Linked DNA regions of Homo sapiens: region 1 is linked to region 2. The links are contacts of gene promoters, found by promoter capture Hi-C in human tissues and cell types (Jung and others, 2019). All regions are on one chromosome and are shown on one strand. Each heading gives the region's core, a stretch centred on a gene start or on the middle of the fragment in contact. The rest is flanking DNA. Distances are from core to core; before and after follow the strand shown.

Region 1 (4,092 bases), core at 850-3,349, 43 kb after region 2:
TGTTACAATTGTCCTTGTGTTACAATTGCCTACCACATTCAGTACAGTAATATGCTATACAAGTTCATTGCTTAGGAGCAATAGGCTATACCATATAGCCCAGGTGTATAGTAAGCTCTACCATCTCAATGTGTGTAAGTACACTCTATGATGTTTGTACAACAATGAAATTGCCTAGCAATGCATTTCTCAGAAAGCATCCCTGTTGTTAGGGTATGCATAACTGTTTCTTTTTTATTTTTGTTTCGGAAAACCATTATACTCTTGTAAAAACAATATAGGCTTGTTATATAATTACTCAGAAATAACCATCATTAATATCAGATGATTGCAATTCTAGGCATCTTTTTTGTGAGACAGGCTCTCACTCTGTTGTCCAGGCTGAAGTACAGTGGCACCATCACAGTTCACTGCCACCTTGACCTCCCTGGGCTCAGGTGATTCTCCTACCTCAGCCTCCCAAGTAGCTGGGACTGCAGGCATGCGCCACCACACCGGCTAAATTTGGGTTTTTGGGTTTTTTTTTTTTGGTAGAAACAAAGTTTCACCATGTTGCCCAGGAAGGTCTCAAGCTCCTTGGCTTAAGCAATCTGCTCGCCTCAGCCTCCCACAGTGCTAGGATTACAGGAGTGAGCCATCATGCCTGGACAGCATTTTTAAAAAATCTATACATGCATATAGAGAGATGGATAGCTAGAGAGAAATTATTTTTATAAAAATGGAATTATATGCTGTTTTTTAGTAAAAAATATTAAAGGTCTCCTTCAGGCAATGAGACTAGGAACTCCATTTACTGCACAATAACCAAAGACTGGAAGTGACACACTATTTGCGACACTACTGGCCTCACAAGAAGTATGGGAAGTCTCTAAGTTTCTCTTTTTGAAAAATGTAAAATAAAATAAGAACAGTACATGTGAGCTGAAGTCAGAGTGACTTGGCATTCTGCCTGTGGGAAGCTGCAGGTAACTGTAGGGGTTGAGTTGCTTAAGAGCAGTTGTTAGTAGATCAGAGAATGAGTTTGGGGGCTGTCTTGAGCATTGGGAAGGAAAGCCTTGGGTCACTATGCTGAACCCAGACCCTCAAGGGGACTGAATTGAGAAAGTGTACTCATTTCATAAGTTAAGTCCAATAGGATTTTCACCAGTTTAAGACAAGCAATGAGCTCAAAATCCAATATCACCAAAACAGGAGGAGGTAAGCAGCAAAGAACATACTTAATCCCCCAAAGAGTGTAGATATTGGAAAGGTCAGATACAGAACAGCTGTGTATTTACATAAATAAAGGATATAATCGCATGCATCACCAGTTATCAAGAGATTATTAGGACTGAATGGATGAATTTGAAAAAAGGGAACTTGCAGAAATGAGAAATACTACTGAACTAAAAAAATGTATTTAGTGAGCTAGAAGATATGCCTAAAGAAAATGGAAAATATGAAAGTAATATTAATTAAGCCATATGGAGGATACTGCTACAAAGGAATGACAATTAATTACTGTACCAGAAAGCTTCTCATCTTCTACAGTAGAAGCCTGACGACAGTGACATAGTATCTTAGAAATGCTGAAGGAAAATAACAGCCTATAATTGTGTACCAGCAAGACTATGATTTAAGGGTGAGGGTGAAATAGTTATTTATAGATGAATAAAAAAACGAAGAGAGTTTACAACCATGAGACCTGCATTAAAGGGTATACTTCAAAAAGAGGAAAATTATTCCAGAAAGATAGTTGAAAATTCAAGAGAGAATAATGAATAAATGGTAAACACACACATAAATATAGATACGTATGTATAATAAACATTTGATATATAAATCTAATTTTTGAGTTAAGAAAAAGACAACTAGAATAGTGGGTAGCCACGGTATGTAAGTGGGGGTGGGCAGGTCCAGAGTTGTGTTCTAAAGGTCCTTGTGTTTTTAAGAGAAGGTAATGAATATTCTTTGACTGTAAACTTTTAAAGGTAAACGTGCATGATAAACTTTCAAGAATAAACTTTAAAAGAAGAGAAATAGAGTGCATAAATTCCAGACAAGTAGCAAGAAGAAGTAGAATGAGAAAAAAATAAAATTTTATAAAGGGCAAAAAGCATAAAGTGGAACAAATGGAAATTAAAAAGTAAAATAAATAATAGAAATAAGCCCAGATAGATTAATAATCACAGTAAATAGTAATAGATTAAACTCACCTATTAAAAGGCAGAGACTATCAGATTGGGGAAAGAGAAATCCAGATATATGCTGCAAGCATAAATTCACATAAAGATTGAAAGCAATGTATGGAAAAAGGTAAGTCAGGCATATACAAACTAAAAGAAGGCTGGTGTAGCTACTTAATAACAGGCAAAGGAGACTTTAAAGCCAAGAGCATTAAGGATAATAATAAGATGCTCAATTTCCCAGGAAGATGTAGTATTTCTAAATGTGAATATACCCAGTAAAATAACTTCAAAGTATATAAAGCAAAAGTTGGTAGAACTACAGGAATAAATTGAAATATCTACCATCATAGTAGATAATTTCAAAACATCTTTATTGATAGGTGAAGGACATGAAACTTTTTTTAATATGGATTTTATAATTGATGATATGTGTTATAAAGGAAGTCTTTACATTTCCAAAAATCTGTTTCATAGAGGACACGTTTTCTTACCAAAATACCATTAAATTTGAAGTTAACAAAAAATATAAATAAAAAATTTCCATACATTTGAATGTGGGACTATTTCTTTTAGAATAAGGTGGAAGAAAAGGACATCAGTTCTCCTTGCTACGTCAGCTTTGTAGTGGAGGTCCTAGCCATCACAGTAAAACAAGCAAGAGAAATTAAAAATGTCAGTATCAAAATGGAAGAAACGAGCATCATTTGTAAACGATAGGATTTTCATATAGAAAACTTCGAAAGATCTACAGACATACTAAAAATAGTGAGTTTTAGAAAGATGGCTGGCTATAACATCAAAACATAAAATCAAGTTATATTCTATATATCAGTAACAAATATTAAACATAATTTTTAAGATACCATTTATAATAGCCAAAAATCTTGATTTAGGAATAAGTCTTACAAAAGAAGTACAAAATCTGTACACTGTAGGTTATAATGTTTAATTGAAATACATTAAAGACCTATATAAATGGAAAGATATTCCATGTTTATCAAAATAATAATGTAAACATGTCAGTTCTCTCCAAATTGTCTAGATTTAGTGGAGGGTTTCTCAGCCTTGGTACTATTGATATTTTGAAACAGATCATTCTTTGTTGTGGGAGCTATGCATTGTAGGGTAGTTAGCATCATACCTGGCCTGTACCCACTGGATGCTATTAGCAAACATCCCTTTCTGTTGTATTGAATCAAAAAAGTCTGCAGACATTGCCAAATGTCCCCTGGGGGCCAAATTGTTCCCAGTAGAGAACCGCTGATTCAGTGCAGTTACAATCGAAATCCAAAAAGGGTTTTAAGAGTTGAATTTGATGTACTGATTCCAGAATTTACCTGGAAGAATCAAAAGTTCAAGAGTATCCAAAACATTCCTAAAATAGAGTAAGGTGGAGGGTTTGCCTTTCTAAATAACAAGACTAAAATTTTACTGATCATGACACTGTGGTATGGATGCAGGATAGGTGCATGGACCAATGGAACAAACCATAACCCTAGAAAACAGACCTGGGCCACTATGGAATCAGTAAATGACAGAAGTGGCATTTTTGAATAGTGGAGAAAAACTGAACTGCTCAATAAATAATACTCGGATAATTTTTTATCCATATTGTAAAAATGAAATGAGGTCTCTAACCTGGATGAATTAAGGATTTAAAGGTAAAAAGGCAAAACTTTGAAACGTTTAGAAGAAAATTTAGAATATATTTTTTACATTGAAATAGGGAAATATTTCATAAACAGAAAAAGTGCACATTATTTTTTAAAAGTGTTTATGAATTTGACATTTGTGGTAGGCAGAGTTTTGAGGATAAGCCCCATGACCCTTGCCTATATACAGTCCTCTCCCCTTTGAGCGTGGACAGAACCTGTGAATATGATGAATTACCACCCCCATGATTGTTATATTCTAAGGCAAAAAA
Region 2 (4,176 bases), core at 1,647-4,146:
CTTTAATCTTACCCTGTCTCCTACTTCCCATCTGCCTCCTCAATCACCTTCTATATGCTGACTACTCTGAAGTCTATGAACCTAGCCCCAAACCCTCTTCTTTCAGTTATCTCTATTCAACTGTCCCCTGAACATCTCCCACCTGTTGCTCAGATTCAAAATGTCCGAAGCAGAATTCCCCAGCTTTCCTGCCAAACTGACCCCTCGGATCATGTTCATCTTGGTGAACAGCAACAGTCATTTACTTGGTCACCCCAAAAAGAAACTTAGTCCCTGTAGACTCCTCCTTCTCTCTCATTGCCACATATATTCAGAGCCCGATCCCATAACTGCTACACTTTAACATTACATGTAAAAGTATATGTGTGAGGAGAGTGAACAGAGTGGAGATTCACACTATGCCCATGACCTCTGCCTTAGTTATGGCCTTCATCACTTATTGCCTGAACTATCAGAACATTCTGTTCTTCTTCCAGTTCCTCTGCTTCCAATCTACTCTTTGAGCACACACAGAGATTTTAAAAGGAGAAAATGAATGAATTTAAAAATAAAAAATTGGAATCTCTGACCTTCTCCAAACATAACAAGTCCACTTGTGACTGAGTTGCTGATAGAGCTTAAAATCAAGGACCAAAGATTGGTCCTTGGAGTAGGGGAAAGAGCTAGACACAGGAGATTTGGGTTCAAGTTTCAGGTAAACTGCTTCCTAGTTAAATATCTCTGGGCAATTACTGTAATCTATTTGTTTCTCCAAACTCAGTTTAAGCTCACCTCCTCCAGGAAGCCTTCCCTGACTATGCAAATATAGACAAGTCCCCCTTTCACTCCCGTAACATTGTTTGCCTTTATTATAGCAACTACTTACAATTGCTGATTTATTCCTGTTTCCTCTATTAGAGTATTAAACTACAACTTCCTTCTAGTCTCATAGCTCAGCATAGTGCTTGGCAAATAGCAGGTGCTCAATAATGTAGAATGTATGCATATTCCACAAACTCAGCTTTCTCACCTGTACAATGGGATAATAACGCCTACTTCTCAGCATTCCTTTGAGATTTACATAAGCTATACATATAAAAAAACTTCATAAACTATACCTCAATGTATAAAATACTTGTAGTTTGTCCCCCACTATTTTATAAAGTCAAAATACCTCAACATAGCATTCAAGGCCCTGAACAATGTTTTCCAGGTCACCTTTTCGATTTCCCTCTGGCTCCCACCCCATTACTCTATATTATAGCCAGTCAAATAATATTCCAAACTCACCAACTTCTTTCATACCTCCTATCATTTTATATTGGATTCACCTATCTACATGTCAGTATCAATAATGTGGGCTATTATTATTATAATTATGACTGAAGTAGTAGGAGATAGAAACAAATGTTGCTTTTGTCTACTAAGTGTTTTGTTATCCTCTGTCTTTTCCCCTCATCCTAGTCAATATTCCATTAAAACACAGGTTCGATTACATTTTTCAATGCCTACTGGATAAAATCACCTTGTAGTATGGATAAGGTTCTTCATGATCCAACTTCCCTCTGTTATTTAACCTTCCTCTGCTGCTCCACTAATAGCCTTTGTGACAGTTGTAGTAACTACAGTACATGTAGTTTTTCCAAGATAATAGGCTGGCTCAGCTTTCATGCCTTTACACATGATGTGTCCTTTGCCTCTTACGTCCTCCTCTACTTTGTCTATCCAGTGAACTCCCTGTCATCCTTTAAGATTCAATTCAGATGTAAACTCTTCTGTGAAACCTGCCCTTAAATACTCAGTGGCAGAATTAGATGATCTCTTCTCTCTTACTATGCCATACATATCTTGTTACAATCTTCTCTGACGGTGCCTGTCACCTCCACTAGCCTGTAAACGTATCCAGCAGAGGGCTGCTTTTTATCTCCGAGTCCTTACTGTCTGGCACAAAGTGGGTGCTCACGGAAAATCAGTTGAATACATCAACAATTACCCGTCAGTGGCACCTGAAGCCATCAGTCACTGGAGCTACCCCATCATTGTCCATCACACACACTGCTCTTCATAGACTACTATTACATTCTCAGTCCTTTGAGGTGGCAATCACGTGCTGGTGGTATTTCTAGTCAGTTGAAATGACAGTAGTAACACACTTTTAAAAATGTATTCATGTGCCATGCTGGTGCGCTGCACCCACTAACTCGTCATCTAGCATTAGGTATATCTCCCAATGCTATCCCTCCCCCCTCCCCCCACCCCACAACAGTCCCCAGAGTGTGATGTTCCCCTTCCTGTGTCCATGTGTTCTCATTGTTCAATTCCCACCTATGAGTGAGAATATGCGGTGTTTGGTTTTTTGTTCTTGCGATAGTTTACTGAGAATGATGATTTCCAATTTCATCCATGTCCTTAAAACTTAAATAATAATAAATAAAAAAAAAGAGATATTATGCTAGAAGTCTGAGTATTTTACTGATTTTCCATTTTAAGAATAAATTATCATGGCAAATTTTAAGTTACATACATTATTTTATTGTCTACTTTTTAAAAACATTATCAGCTTACCTTGGCATTTTTTTTCTTTTTTTAATGTCCGTTTTTACGTTGTGAACATTTAGTAAATTAATTTATACTCATTTTTATTTAATTAAGAAAGCAGCTAAGAATAAATGCTAGTGTCTGATTAAACTATTTCCCAGATCTCAAAAAAAAAAAAAAATTTATTCTTTGAAAGGAGGATTAGGGCAGTGTCACAGCCCGGCAGCCTGTGAAACGAAGACACTTACCTTCATTCCCCTTGGTACCCTCCAGCTCAGGTATCTGCAACCATCTTGCTTGACGCCCTGACAGGAACTGCACCAGGCCAGAAAGTGAGGAAGCGGAAGTGGGGACCGGCCTGGGCCCTTGAGCCTGGCTGGAGTAGGTGGAATATCCTGGGGAGAGGAAGTTTGGTCGTTGGGCAGCGGCCGACTTTCCTCTCAGGTAACAGCCTCTGCTTGGGAGTGGTGGTGGGGCTCAAGGCGGGTCTGGAAACATCGGTTGCCTTCCCTCCTCCCGTTTCTTGCCGGCACCGTCGGAGTCCAGGTGGGGGCGGGAGGGCGGCGAGGCCATTACCATCCGCAGGAGGTGAAATCCCTGTGGCGTGACGTGACGCCATCACGTCCCTCTCTCCTTCTAGAGGCTTTCCTGAGGTCCAGCCTTCCCCTCCACTGCCGGTTCTCCTAGGGTAATTGCTGGTCTGATTCTCTGTGTGGCCGAACGCCCAGCACCTGGCTCATCTGGTACACAGTCGTCATCTGAAGTGGGGGTTGTATGAATGAAGACGAGGATGCCGAGGAAAGGCCCTGCCCACAGAAAGTTGATTCTTGCTCAGCCTCCACCCGCCATTTTCAAAATTCTTTCCAAAGCATCTCGTTTCTTCCTCCCCCACGGCCCTGTCTGGCGATTATTCTTTGTGTTGCGGATGAGGGAACTGAGACTTAGAGAAGTTGTTAAGTCTTAGTTAGGAAATGGCAAAGCAGGACCTCAAATCATGGCTTTGAATCCTAATTAAAGGAGAGAGATGAGGCATGTGAAGGCCCAGGTGTGAGCACATTGTGAGCGTTCAATGAAGAGTAGCTGTTTACTCCAGGGTGTGAGGACTGTGTCTTGTGCACCTGTTTCTCCATTTCCTAGAATGGAGCCTGCCACATGGTAAGCTCTGGAAGATTATTAGTTGAATAAATTAATGAACACACACTTAGGGCTGGAAAAGATTAGATTCTCTGCCTCTGACAGTATTCTTTTCATCAAAACAGTAACACCTCCTAATGGCATGGTAGTCTCTATAACCATTTTCCCGTAGCATTCTTGGCCAGAGCTCATTTCCTTACGAGTCAAACTCATGTCTATAGGCAGAACCTGTACAAACACAAGAGCTGTTCTTTTCTCATAGTTCCACCTTAAATGCATCTTTTCAGAGATAGCTCTGGACACTCAGCCTCTTAGATGCTATTGTCATTATTGTCCCAAGTCTTTGGATAAAGTCAGTTCAGCTCCTCTGTTCCTTATTCTCAATCCTGAAATCCAAAAACTTTTGGAAATCAACTTTTCCTCCAACTCATTTGGTGGTAAAACTTGGCCTGAGGCCATTTGTAGTCTTTATTCCAAATATTTACATGTTTTTATTGCAGACATGTTAATGTGTTTAATTGTTCA

The links. The method cuts DNA at HindIII sites, captures the fragments that hold promoters and counts their contacts. A contact is called where the count stands out against the background at its distance.
Region 1: a contact is called between a fragment that was not itself captured here and the fragment with the promoter of ENTHD1 in region 2, in 1 of the 25 tissues and cell types used here (small bowel).

What each region holds. Positions count from the first base shown.
Region 1 is chr22:39,848,608-39,852,699 of GRCh38, reverse strand. All of the region lies in intron 3 of ENTHD1 (ENTH domain containing 1), which reads left to right. Among named protein-coding and RNA genes, the nearest start is that of ENTHD1, 43 kb to the left of the region's middle. The HindIII fragment of the contact is 5,099 bases long and covers 1-4,092 here.
Region 2 is chr22:39,892,480-39,896,655 of GRCh38, reverse strand. ENTHD1 (ENTH domain containing 1) reads left to right here and starts at 2,896. Exons shown (of 7, transcript NM_152512.4): 1 at 2,896-2,961. It also overlaps a transcript of GRAP2 not described here. The HindIII fragment of the contact is 22,421 bases long and covers 1-4,176 here.